Linked DNA regions of Homo sapiens: all the other regions are linked to region 3. Evidence: promoter capture Hi-C in 16 types of primary human blood cells and fetal thymus (Javierre and others, 2016). All regions are on one chromosome and are shown on one strand. The core of a region is centred on a gene start or on the middle of the fragment in contact, and the rest is flanking DNA. Distances in the headings are between cores, read along the strand shown. Region 1 overlaps DHX35 (DEAH-box helicase 35). Region 2 has its middle 94 kb from the start of DHX35. Region 3 holds the start of ADIG (adipogenin). Region 4 overlaps DHX35 (DEAH-box helicase 35).

Region 1 (3,261 bases), core at 173-2,672, 450 kb after region 3:
GCTATCTTGGCTCACTGCAACCTCTGCCTCCCAGGTCCACGTGATTCTCCTGCCTCAGCCACCTGAGTAGCTGAGACTATAGATGTGTGCAATCACGCCTGGCTAATTTTTGTATTTTTAGTGGAGATGGGGTTTCACTGTGTTGGCCAGGCTGGTCTCCAACTCCTGACCTCAGGTGATCCACCCACCTCGGCCTCCCAAAGCTCTGGGATTACAGGCATGAGCCACTGTACCCGGCCCCAGCCCACAGTTTTGACATAGGGACAGACACAGAGTCAACTACCTTAGGGGAAGGGCTTTACTAGCAGCATGGATGAAGTGCTGGGCTCAGCACATCATGTGCCAGTGAGAGTCAGGGCAGGCTTCATGGAGGAGATAACATTCATTCTGAACCTGGAAACAAGAGTGTTCAGTCAGAAAGGACCCGGAGGGTATTCTAGGTAGAGAAGTAGCAGGGGCAGAGCCATGGAACATAAAGGAACCTCATGCGTTTGGGAAGTGGGGAATCATTGGTATGGGTGGCCCATGCAATGGTGCTGCTCTGTAACACTGCCTAGGAAGAAAGAGGTAAGCACAGAAGTCTAGAGTAGGCCTTTAGACATCTTTATAACATTTCAATGGTTAAGTTTATGTTTGTCCAATTTAATAATAAAAATTGGGGGCTTATATTTTTCTTGTTTACAATTTCATTTTTCTAGAATTCATTTATATTGTATTTTACCAATAAAAAGTACTGATTAAAAGTACTGATCAACCATGGATTGGATTTTGTTTTTTTGAGACAGTGTCTCACTCTGTGTTTTTGAGACAGTGTCTCAATCTGTTGCCCAGTGGTGTGATCTTGGCTCACTTCAATCTCCACCTTCGGGGTTCAAGTGATTCTCCTGCCTCAGCCTCCTGAGTAGCTGGGATTACAGGTGCATGCAACCATGCCCAGCTAATTTTTGTATTTTTAGTAGAGACGGGGTTTTGCCGTGTTGGCCAGGCTGGTCTCAAACTCCTGACCTCAGGTGATCTGCCCACCTCAGCCTCCCAAAGTGCTGGGATTACAGGCGTGAGCCACTGTGCCTGGCCCAGATTGGAAATTTTAAAGACGACAACAACTTGTCCTTCTCCAATTGGAAGATGGAGAAGCCCTGGGAAAAAGGGTGGGGTGTGTGTGAAGAGAGGGAGAGAAGATAGCGGTAGATTTGAAGGCAAGAAAGTCTGTGGTCAAACACTTTGTACCCTAGAATTGCAGCTTTCAAAATGTGGTCTCCAGCCCAGCATCAGTATCACCTGGAAACTTGTACGAAATGCAGCTTCTCAGGCCATGCCAAGTCCCATTCAATCAGAAACTGGACTAGGGCCTAGGACTCCATTTTAACAAGCCCTCCAGATGTTTCTTTTGGGCAGTAAAGTTTGAGTTCTGTTTCCCTAGACCAAGGAATCGGATTTATCCTGTAGCCACTGCAGACCTAGAAGTTGCTTAGGTTGAAAGCACCTTGGTCGGTTCTGGGTTTAGAAATGTTACCCAGTGACCACACTAATGTGGTCAGGATACGCACACTCGTGTGCAGGATAATTTGAAGAGTGCCCACGCCTGTCATCTCAGCACTTTTGAGAGGCTGAGGCCAGAGGATTGCTTGAGGTCAGGAGTTCAATACCAGCCTGGGTGCCATAGCCAGACCTCAACTCTCAAAAAAAAAATGAGCCAGGCATGGTGGCACGTGGCTGTAGTACTAGCTACTCAGGAGACTGAGACAGGAGGATCGCTTGAGCCCAGGAGATTCAGGCTTCAGTGAGCCATGATTGCACCACTGCACTCTAGCCTGGGTGACAGAGCGAGACCCTGCCTTTAAAAAATTTTTTTTTTTAAATCAAGAGAGATGCAAAACCTCAATTTTAGATCCTTTTTTTGCTGACTTTTGGGTGGTTAAATTTGGGAGTTGCTTAAAGGAGAAAGGCTTTTCTTTTTCTTGCTTCATTCCTAAGGAGCTCTGAAGGGCAAAGAAAGGTTGGGGAAATAGAGCCAGCCTGAAGCCATGCCATACCATTCAGGTGGCAAAGAAAGTGCCCCCCAGTCACGGCCTCTTTGCAGGGGGGGCCCTTCTTTTTCCTTTGATCAGCTGAGATTCACTTACTGGTTTTTGAGGGGTGGGGAACCACAGTATGGCTGGTATGTTTATAACATGGGAAGCCCTGAATTAACACTTTGGATGTTTCAGAAACTGATATCTACTCATATGCACACCTAAAATCAGGGGACTGGATGTTATGCTCTTGGCTCTTCGGTTGTCTATTACCTGAGCCTTAGAAACATTTTTTCCCTTAAATAAAGGTATAATTTATTTACAGTGCAAGATGAGTTTTGACAAATGTGTATACCCATGTAACCTGGACCCACATAAATTATACAATATTGTTATCATTTTAGAAAATTCCTTTGTGTCTCTTTACAGTCAGTTCCCAGCCTCTTTCAGAATCAGGCAAGTCTTTGCCTCCATTTCTGCATTTTCTAATAAAGTCATTAGGCTCAGTTCAGAGTTCTGTAAATGCAGATGAAGGATCCAGAAAGGTCCTTCGCGGATAACTGAGATGTTCCAGAAGTCATTGAGGATTTAGAGTCTCATCTGAAAAATGGACACACCATTACCCAGCACTTAGGTCTTGAGGCTGTGGTGAGCAACATAAATGCATGTGTTTAGCACAGTGTCTGGCACATAGAGTAGAACCTGTTAAAGGTTAAAGGAAACAGCATGTCTACCTGTGGTTCCTGACTGTCATCACAAGAGGGGGAAATTAGCTCATGTTTCTTTCTCATTTCAGGGTCATCTATAACGAAGTTATACAGACCTCCAAGTACTACATGAGAGATGTGACTGCCATTGAATCGGCCTGGCTGTTGGAGCTGGCTCCACACTTTTATCAACAAGGAACGGTAGGAATGAACTGAGTCTGTGCCCCAGCCACCTGTTCACAGCCTCTCCATGTTTTTAAATGTACTTTTTTTCTCCAATTTAATGCCCTATGTGTGTTCCCCCTAGGGGTGCATAGGGTGGAAAGGCCATTACCATATCCCCAAAACATTCTGGGAAAGCACTCTAGCGTTTAATTCATAGTGAAGTGCAATTAAAAATAAATCCCCCTAATCTCATAAGAAAAAAAAGGTATCGCTTTCTCGCTTTCTTTCTCCTTTTGCTCTTCCAAACTATTTTTTTTTTTTTTTTTGAGACAGTCTCACTCTGCCGCCCAGGCTGGAGTGCAGTGGCACGATCATGG
Region 2 (3,410 bases), core at 96-2,595, 480 kb after region 3:
TTTAATCCATATCAGCCTTATCAATGTGCTTATTTGCACCTTTTGGTCTGCTCCCTGAGAGGCGAAGCTCTCGGAGGGCAGGGCTGGCCTGCCTTGCTTAGGGTTGCACCCTCAGTGAACTGTATTGGGTCTAGGAGAGGTTGATATGGGGGAGGGGATGATGCATGCAGAGTGCCCAAGGCTTAGTGGGTGCTCAACATAATGACTGTATCCTAAGCGTGGTGTATACTATGAAAACAAAAAGCCATAAGCTTCCTTGTTCTGGTAGTAATTCCCTACCCCTCCACCCTAAGGACCAGTGAAACTGTTATGAGAGTGACCAAGAAGAAACGTCTTCTCTTGTCCTCTTCAATGTCTGAATTCTGCATCCAGCACATTATCTTCGGTGTCTCCCCCATTTACTTCCCTCGCCTTCTTCCTTAAGGAATATCAGCAATGATAATCCCAGCGACTGGCCAGGCACGGTGGCTCATGCCTGTCATCCCCGCACTTTGGGAATTGAGGCGGGAGGATCACTTGAGCTCAGAAGTTTGAAGCTGCAGTGAGCTATGATCGTGTTGCTGTGCTCCAGCCTGGATGACAGAGCGAGACCCTGTCTCAACAAAAAACAAAAAAACTCAGAAACTATAGGTACTGGTAGACATGCTAATTTCACATCTTAAGTAGACTCCTTAACTCTTTCTGTTGCACTGGCTCTCAGTCAATTTTGGGGAAATCTCTCTGGGAGGGGAACTCTCAGGTCCAAGGCTGGCAAAGGACCAATTGAGTTCCTCTTCTGGAGGACTGGGTGACACAGACACTCAGGTCACTGTGTTTGCCCTGAAGGTGGATGGCAGATGGGCTCCAAAGATGCTGGGGTACAGATCCCCTCTGCCTTTGGTAAGAGGCTGGGGAGGTCTGGCCCTGGTGGAGCCCCCAGGCTGGGACCTTTGGACCAGAGCAGCTTCATTTGTGTACCCAGTGAATCTTACGGATTTTATCACATTCTCTGTGTGCCATAATGTGAAGAACGTTGGGAAGCATTGGTGTAGGTGCAGGGGTGAAGGCAGTTGCATTGGGCCATGAGGCCATCTGTGCTTTGTTTGCTGGTCTTGGACCAGCCTCTGTTTGTGAGTATGAGCTTGTCTGGGCCTCTGTTTCTTCAATCAGTAGCACTGTAACCAGGACACTACAGCAGATATAGCCCAGGAAGGGGCCAAGGGTCTTGAAAGGGCAGAGGCAGTGGAGTGGGGACGATACAGGGAGTCTGAACTGGGAAGGGCCTTGCTAAGAAGAATGTGAAGCCTAAGGTGAGACAAGAGATTATTCGAGAGCTTGGAGCATTGATATATGAGTTGGGTATGATTGTCCCTATGTTTCAGACAAGGAAACCAAGGCTCAGAGTAGTGGAAAAGCTCACCACAGTCAACGGCAGAACTAAGTGGGCCTGAGTGCTTTCTTTTCTTAATGCTGCCCCTTGTAGCTCAAGGAAATTTGATGAAGAGTGTTTTGAAACTTCAGCTGGCTCTTGACAAGTGTTTGTGTGACATTTTGGTGGGAGAGATGGAGATATGTCTGCTGGTATTTGGGACAATTGGGTACATCGCATCAGTACCAGTGGGAATAGAGCAGCCTTGACATTTCACCATCTGAGGAATGGCAGGAGGACTGAGACCATTCTGTCGGAAGAATAGAAAACTTAGAGGGTGCGTTGAGTTGAATAATTTGCCCCAAAAGATATGTCCACTGAGAACTTGTGAATGTAGCCTTTTTTTTTTTTTTTTTTTTTGAAAAAGGAATGGCCAAGCACAGTGGCTCAAACCTGTAATCCCAGCACTTTGGGAGGCCAAGGCAGGCAGATATCCTGAGGTCAGGAGTTTGAGACCAGCCTGGCCAACATGGTGAAACCCTGTCTCTACTAAAAATACAAAAATTAGCCAGGTTTAGTGGTACATGCTTGTAATCCCAGCTACTTGGGAGACTGAGGCAGGAGAATTGCTTGAATCTGGGAGGTGGAGGTTGCAGTGAGCTGAGATTGTGCCACTGCACTCCAGCCTGGGCGGCAGGGTGAAACTCTGTCTCAAAAAAAAGAAAAAAAAAAAAAGAAAAGAAAAAAGAACAAGAAAAAAAAAGATAAAAGGAGTTCTTGCAGATGCAGTTAAACTAAGGATCTTAAGATGAGATCATTTGGGATTATCTGGGTAAGCCCTAAATGCAGAAGAGGAAAAGACATAGACAGAGGAGAAGCTGCTGTGGAGACAGAGGCAGAGACTGGAGAGGTGCAGCTGCAAGCCGGAAATGCCAAAGACTGCGGGCGGCTGCAGGAGCTCAGAGACAGGCATGGGACAGGTTCTCTCTCGGACCCTCCAGGAGGAACCAATCCGGCCAACACCTCTATTTTGGACTGCCCTCCTTCTCAGAACTGTGTGAGAAGGAGAAATGTCTGTTGTTTGACATCACCAAGCTTGTGGCCATTTGGTACGGCAGCCCTGGGGAACTCATACTGGGGGGTAGGATGCCGTCCTCAAAGAAATGAGGGTTGTCATGTGGAAGAGGGACCCTACTCACTCTGTGTCCCTGGAGGAATGTGAGCTTTCCTCTGAGCTTCTAGGTCCTTAGGAAAAGGGCTCCGTACAGTCAGGGGGTTCAGGGATGGAGTGGGCTGCACTGGGGAGGTGTGAGTACCCCATTACTGATATGCCACCAGGGAGTTTCAACTGGCATCTGTTGTGTAGTTGAACTTGACCATTTGTGAGGCCCCCTCCAGCCCTGAGAATCTATGCACTGGTGCAAAGAAAGAGGTAAATGTTTAGAGAGGTGACAGAGGACCTAGAGCTAATGTCCAGGATGCTGCCCAGGGGCCTTAGAGATGGTGACAATGGTTGGTGGGGATATGGGTCTGTTGGAGAGGAGGAAGAAGAGGAAGAGAGCCTGACTGCCAGGCAGGCAGGGGTATCTTTGGGGCTCTGGGAGCCCCAGCCTCTGGATTCTGCCCTCAGTGAGCTTTGCAGGACACCCTACCATACCCCCTCCCTGCTTTCTTCTGATAGAGTCGTTTCCATTTGGATATTGCCTTGAACATGATGTTCACAATCCCCAAAGGGAAGAACATCCCTCAATAAGCCACACAATTCTCCCAGCCAAGAACTTGCTGTTCCAAATTCATTAAAATTGCTGTGATATTCTCTTCCCATTTATGTGCCAAGAGCCGTTGTGGACAGAATTCATAATACCATGGAGTGGTGGATGAAACCGATTGTGCAGTCAGAAAGAAGTGAACTTATTTTATTTTATTTTTAATAAAAGTGTACCTTTCAGGTTGGCAACAAATGCGAGTGTGGGTGTGGGGAAATGGCACACTGATGTGTTTATTAAGGGAGCACAAATTGGTCCAACCCCAATGGATATCAACTTGGAAATGATATAAGATG
Region 3 (3,285 bases), core at 655-3,154:
GAGTGCCTTCAGGCCTGGATCACACATAGTGGAGTGAATGGACCACTTGAAACAATCATGAGAACCATTGTGGCCATGCCTCTGCCAAGAGCTGCTGACGTGTGCCCTCTGAACTGTGCCTGGGAGCTGCCTACCTTGCACTGTGTGTTCTGCCTGCTCTGCCCACGCACAACAGGACCTCCAGCTGGGCCTAGTGGCCAGAGACGCTGACTGCACAGTAGCCCTGTTTTGGTGTCTGGAAAGGTTTTGTAGCCAGAAAAAAAATGTGTGCTCAAGCCTTTCCCAGCTATGCTGCTCAGCTCTCTCTCTGACCGCAGCCCCTTCAGGACCCAGTTCCAGGGAATCACCCCCAACCCAGACCACCTGCTCCTCCTTCTCTTGGCCTCTGGGCCCTGCATCAGGAGCACCCTGCCAGAGCACTGCTCCTCTTGGACACTCATTCTAGTCCATTTTCCCAGACTTCCTCTTGTAGGAATTCTGGCCTTCCCACAGCTGGGCTAGGACTCTTGAAACCATGCCCCAGCTCTCCCAGCCCCTCCCATGCTCTTATTTTTTCCTGTTGCTGGCCCCATGCGCCCTTCTCCTTGAATCGGTGTCTTTTCCTATAAGGGGGTTTTCTACTCCATGTTTTTCCCTAAGTTTACCACCCCCTTCCTGCAGCTGCTCCCCCGCCTGGACCTGGTTTGCCTTTTCAACAGGTGCTTTTAAGTCATGAGATGCTGTAGTCTCAAAATCAAGCCTGCATCAGAATCATTCTAGTTGCTTATCAGTGTGTTGAATCCCAAGCCACACCCCCACCCCCAAGAGGTCTGAGGAGACGAAGGTGAGCCTGGGAATTGGCATGTTTAATAAATACACTCCAGCACCCACCCACCTGCTGGCAGTCACAGGCAGGTGGTCCAAGGGTCCTCTTGGAGAATACCATGCAGCAGCCACTCCAGTGGGAAGCCCGAAGCCTCCTTTCTGCCATGGTCTGGCACATGGAGGTTTACTGAATACTTGATGAGTGAACGGATGACAGATAGGAGAAGATGAGGATGACATGTGGAAGTGTTCTGGCCACTCAGGAGATAAAGGAACAAGATTCAAGTCGTTAGAAGCCCCTCACTGAAAACCCTAATAAGGAGAGGCACAAGCTTTCAGATTAAGTAATAATCATTTATAGTCATTTAATCTAGTAATAATTAGAATAATCTACTATGTGTTAGATTTTAAAAGTTTTCAGTGGCAGCCCAGTGACCAATCCAGCCTGGCAGACGTTTTGTTTAGCCAACAGTGCTTTGACAAGGTCTGATCCGACATTTTAAACTTGGGAGATTTCACAGAAATCCAGACTTTTTGCCTGTCTTGGGAAAGTTAGGAGTCCTGCAATAATGGACCTGCATTTCACTTGTAGCAGTTATTGGTTGGAGCTGCCATCACTGCATGCTTAGGATGCAGTAAGCTGCATCCAGTTTGCCGCAGTCCCCAGCACCCCCACCAAGTGTGGACGTGGGCACCCACAGCTGGTATTACAGGACCTGGGGACCCAGCTGGCTCCTGGAGGGGGTCTGTGACTTCAGATATATGAACACCGATCCTGGGGGTAATTTTTGTCCCATCTATTTTTCTAACTTAACAGAATTATCTCCATCTTACAAGAAAAAGGGTCAGAGGGGTGTCATGAACCCAATAGCTACTGGACTGAGATTCAAGCCCAGGCCTGCCTGGAAACCTGGGCTTTTTAATTCTCAGCCAGACTGTCTGTCTCACTGCCTCACTTCCCACCCTTTCATCCAGAACAGCTCTCCCTCAAAGTGTCCCCTGCATGCTTTGCCTGAAGTACACTGTGACTTCTTTGTTATGTCACAGCTTAGTCACAGTTGGGCTGAGAGCAGAGCATGGCCCAGCCTGCCAGGTCCCATGGGGCAGCCCTGCCAGCCCAGCCCAGGCTGGCCCAGCTTAGCCACACATGCGCCATGAAGTACCCTTTGATGCCGCTGGTGAACGACCTCACATTTTCTTTCCTGGTTTTCTGGTTCTGCCTCCCTGTGGGTTTGCTGTTGTTATTGATCATCTGGCTACGCTTCTTACTTAGCCAAGGTGAGCTTCTTACCCCGTCCAGGCAGGACCCTAATCCTGGAGCTAGGCAGGGGGCCAAATAGGCCAGTGTGTCCTGAAACAACTGCAGAAGGGGCTTCCTTCAGTCATTTTAAGTGCTCGCTTAGATACAAGCAGTCAACTCTTAAGTGGAAAGGATTGGTTTGGTTGTTTAGGGTTTCTTAACCTAGAGTTCGAGAGTGAGTCCTAGAGTTTGAACCTAGAGTTCGAGAGTGAGTCCTAGAGTTTGAACCTAGAGTTTGAGAGTGAGTCCTAGAGTTTGAACCTAGAGTTCGAGAGTGATCTTTTGAACAAATCAGAGGTTATCGCTCCAGGCAGATGAACTTCCAGGTGCCCCTTTCAGCTGGGGTGCAAGGCTCTGTGAGCAGAGCGTGGGCTGGATTTCAGCCCCGCTCACCCTCTCAATTGGCTGCTTTTGTGCAGTAAACAGCTTGCACGATGGGATACAGCAGCCTTAGGCATTTTTCAGATACCTGCAGACCACTCACTGTTTCTGCCTAAGCCATGTATCAGAAAGGATCTGGCTGCTTTGGGAGACAGGCTCATGGAAGCCAGCTGACATTCACCCTGACCTCAGCATGCCACCAAGAGGAGCAAGAGGTGGGACGAAGCTGGCTGTGGAGGAAGCTGGGGGTGGCTGGATCAGGATATGGCCTGGCTGTGTGGCAGGAGTGGGACTTCTGCTCCTCTGGCATGTGTCTCCCTGAGCATCCCCTTCAGCAAGAGGTCTCTTCCTGCTGGACACAGTGGCTCACACCTGTAATCCCAGCACTTTGGGAAGCCAAGGTGGCCAGGTTGCTTGAGCCCAGGAGTTTGAGACCAGGCTGGGCAACGTCCCTACAAGGAATACAAAAATTAGCCAGGTGTGGTGGCATGCATCTGTGGTCCCAGCTACTGAGGAGGCTGAGGTGGGAGAATTGCTTGAGCCTGGGAGGTCGAGGCTGCAGTGAGCCGAGATCACACCACTGTATTCCAGCAGACAGAGTGAGACCCTGTGTCAAAAAAAGGCCTCTTCGTGGGGACCACTTGACCTCCTACCTCCTGCTGCTGAGTGCCATGACCTTTGGCAAGCTAGGCAGGGAGGGCGCAGCACATGCCGCCAGCAATGGTCAGATGTTGTTGAGGCAGGGTGAGAAGTCCCTCCCCACACCCCTGCTAGCCCCATGATCTCAAATGTAGGGGCTT
Region 4 (3,491 bases), core at 657-3,156, 410 kb after region 3:
TTCAAGGGCTCTATAGCCACAGGTGGCTAGTGGCTTATGCATCGGACAGTACAAATAAGGAAAGTTTTCATCATTGCAGAGAGTTCTTTTAGACATAGGTACTGTATATTGTGATTTGTTATGAAGCTTAAGTAAGATAGCAAAAAACTTTTAGGTTGGTGCCTGGCATAGGGTCACAGCTAGACTGTGAGGTTCTTTTGTGCAAATTAGAAAAAGATGTTCCCTCTGGGAGGATGTCTAGAGCTAGGTGGGAGGCAGGTGGACCGGATTGCTGAAGCCCCTAGCCCCCTCAGCCAGGCATCTTTGCACAGTGGGTACACTGTGTACCTGTATGCAGGGCCTCTGGGCTAGCACATAAGTTAGTCTGTATTAGTTGTTATTATTATTATTTTCATTGTTATTTTATTCCATTGCCAAAGATTTAGATTTTTTGATACTTTAAGGGAATTATTGTACCATGTTATTACCTTTTTCAGGAACGGTATAATAAGAGGGCCGATTTCACTGAATCTTTGCCAACACTGAGTATTAGCCTTAAAAAAATAAATCCTTGCCAATGGGATAGATGGGGAAAAAAAAATCTCATTGTTATTATATATCTTAGCTGTAGCTCATTTGGTCACTTCTCCAATGCCTGTTGATTATGTGTTTCTTTGAGTAACTGTTAATATCTTTTATCTCTTTTTTTTTTGCCATATTTCTGTCTTGGTGTTATCATTTATTGTTTGTTTGCTTTTAATATACTTTTTCATACATAGATTCAAACTATCTTGAGACCCAGGTGTCAGGAAAAAATGGTTTTATTCTCAGTAAATTCAAATTTGGGTCTTAAAGCTTCTTTATAGTTTTTATAATTTAAAAAAATTTACTTTGGAAAATTGCATACATTTACAAAATTGGAAGTAATAGTGTAATGACCCCCCCCCCCCTTTATTGACAATTATTAATTTGTAGTCAGTCCTTTCATCTGTAAGCTCCCTTACCTCCTCCTCAGGCAAAAAAGAAAAAAAAAGACACTGAATTTTTGAAATACATTTCAGATATCAAATGATCTCATCCATAAGTGTTGCACTATTATCATTATTTCCAAATGTCTTCTTTTTTAGATTCAGAAAAAGCGAGGGGATCTTCGATTGATTGTAGCTTCAGCCACTCTGGATGCAGACGTAAGAGCCTTGCCTCCCCTTTCCTCCTCTCCTCACAAACACTTTTGTCCTATATATCCTTGGGAAGTTACCTCTAGCAAGAGCTTATCTTTGGCAGAATGCCCTATCTTCTTTATGGGACCATCTGATGTCCTAGATTTCATATAATCAGAGGTTACTCCTTTTCAGCTTGTGAAATTAGACTGTAATTAATTGAGCTCATAATTACCTACCTGTCTTGTTTATCTACATACTGTCTTTCTCCCCACTTACACAGCTTCTTTTTGTTGTTTTTTCAGTATAAGCCTGTATTTCTTGAATTTGTTTATTTATGACTATACTGTATAGATTTAGATTTTTCTGTGCAATTGAAGTTTCTCCTGGGCTGGGCACGGTGGCTCACACCTGTAATCCCAGCACTTTGGGAGGCTGAGGTGGGTGGATCACTTGAGGTCAGGAGTTTGAGGCCAGCCTGGCCAACATGGTGAAACCCCGTCTCTACTAAAAATGCAAAATTAGCTGGGCGTAGTAGTACATGCCTATAATCCCAGCTACTTGGGAGGCTGAGGCAGGAGAATTGCTTGAAACTGGGAGGCAGAGGTTGCAGTGAGCTGAGATCGCTCCATTGCACTCCAGCTTGGGCAACAAGAGCAAAACTTCATCTCAAAAAAAAAAAAAAGTTTCTCCTGTATATATAATAATTTCCATGTTAAAGTTTTCTGTGGCTAGGTTTACATTATTTTTCTCTCTTGTGGACCTATAGTTTAAACAGCAGCTCAACTCAACAAATACTTTTGACCACTTACTATATTTACATGCAGAAATAGATGTTTGCAGTTCAGTGTGTTCAAAGTTCTGAGGCAGCTAAGGAGGGAGCCCTTAACTCCAGCCAGCTGGGGGGTGTCCAGAAACTTTCGCAGAGGTGGTGACCTACCAGCTGTGCTTGAAAGATGGACAGCCGTTTTCCAGATGGATGAAGGTGGGGAAGGGCACCCTAAATATAAGTGAAATCACAGGGACATGACCATGAGTTCATGGAGCTTCGAGTCTTATCTTACCTGCCAGGCCCTCATGGGTGAATTACCCTTGAACTCCCTCTCTGACTTTATCTTCTTCCACTTTCTCCAGTGCTCCCTACATTTCAGCCTCACTGGTCTCCTTGCTGTTCCTCAAAACAACCCAGGCATGCTTCTGCTCTGGAGGAACCCTCTTTTTAGACCATTCCTTCCCCGGACAGCCTAAGGTTCTCTCCTAATTTCATTCCAGTTTTGAGCATTTATTATCTCCTCAGAGAGGCGCTCTCTAAAACAGCACCCCAGTTGCTCTTTATTCCCTTATTCTGATTTTTTTTATGTTTCTCACTTGTCTATCACTATTTAACATTATATGCATTGTTTATTGTGTGTCTCCTGTCACTAAAATATAAGCTCCATGAAGATCAGGACTTTGTCTTATTTTATCTCTTCCACCTAAAACAATGTCTAGCACAGAGTAGGCACTTGGGTTGAATGAATTTTGACTGACTGGGAAGTAATGGAAGATTAAAATGGGGAGGTTGGGGTCAGATGACGGAAAGCCTTAGAGGCTCAGCCAGAGAGGATGAACTCCATCCTGTATCTGGTTGGGAGCCATGGGAACATGTGAGAGAGGGCAGTGACTTCATCATGTTTGAGCTCTATAAAGATCATTCTGAGTGCTGTGTATAGGAGATGAGAGTAGATATGGAGTCTCTAGTAAGGAGGCCAGTTCTGAAATCCAGGTGAGATGTGGTCCCTGGCTCCTGGCTCCTAGTCTCCCTGTGGCTTCTGGGATACAGAACAACTTGGAGAGAGAGAAAGCTTACCATAGCGAAGGTAAATGTCCAACGTGTCCCGAGACTGGTTTCTCAGACCTTTCCACAGGCTGTAGGAGTCTGTTGTTTTAGGTCTGCCCATGGTAACTTTTGGGTTAAAGCTCCTCTGTTGCCCTGTTTAATTGTCATCTCCCTCACCCATGGTATCTGCTGGCATGCTATTTTGTGGACTGTGGCTGACTTCACCTCTAGTTAGCTCCTCTGTGGCTACATTACACAGAACATCTGTATCTCTTTTTCACCCCCCACCTTAAAAATTATTAAATTAAGTTAAAAATTATTCCAGTTTTTATTATGTTGAAAACTATAATGTCCAAGTCTTTTCTTAGATTCATTTTATTTATTTATTTATTTATTTATTTATTTATTTATTTTTTGACACCAAGTCTCACTGTCTTGCCCAGGCTGGAGTACAGTGGTGTGATCTCAGCTCACTGCAACCTCTGCTTCCCAGGTTCAAGTGATTCTCGTGCTTCAGCCTCCCAAGTAGCTGG

Evidence for each region. The method cuts DNA at HindIII sites, captures the fragments that hold promoters and counts their contacts. A CHiCAGO score of 5 or more calls a contact.
Region 1: a contact is called between a fragment that was not itself captured here and the fragment with the promoter of ADIG in region 3, in 1 of 17 cell types (naive B cells). The highest score is 5.7, in naive B cells.
Region 2: a fragment that was not itself captured here is called in contact with the fragment with the promoter of ADIG in region 3 in 1 of 17 cell types (naive B cells); the score reaches 6.8 in naive B cells.
Region 4: a fragment that was not itself captured here is called in contact with the fragment with the promoter of ADIG in region 3 in 1 of 17 cell types (naive B cells); the score reaches 5.3 in naive B cells.

What each region holds. Positions count from the first base shown.
Region 1 is chr20:39,031,398-39,034,658 of GRCh38, forward strand. It overlaps DHX35 (DEAH-box helicase 35), which reads left to right. Exons shown (of 22, transcript NM_021931.4): 21 at 2,809-2,920. Among named protein-coding and RNA genes, the nearest start is that of DHX35, 71 kb to the left of the region's middle. The HindIII fragment of the contact is 9,869 bases long and covers 1-3,261 here.
Region 2 is chr20:39,054,977-39,058,386 of GRCh38, forward strand. No RefSeq gene overlaps it. Among named protein-coding and RNA genes, the nearest start is that of DHX35, 94 kb to the left of the region's middle. The HindIII fragment of the contact is 2,192 bases long and covers 250-2,441 here.
Region 3 is chr20:38,579,293-38,582,577 of GRCh38, forward strand. ADIG (adipogenin) reads left to right here and starts at 1,905. Exons shown (of 3, transcript NM_001393816.1): 1 at 1,905-2,082. The coding sequence starts at 1,959. The HindIII fragment of the contact is 6,378 bases long and covers 1,135-3,285 here.
Region 4 is chr20:38,993,715-38,997,205 of GRCh38, forward strand. It overlaps DHX35 (DEAH-box helicase 35), which reads left to right. Exons shown (of 22, transcript NM_021931.4): 8 at 1,107-1,166. Among named protein-coding and RNA genes, the nearest start is that of DHX35, 33 kb to the left of the region's middle. The HindIII fragment of the contact is 2,149 bases long and covers 833-2,981 here.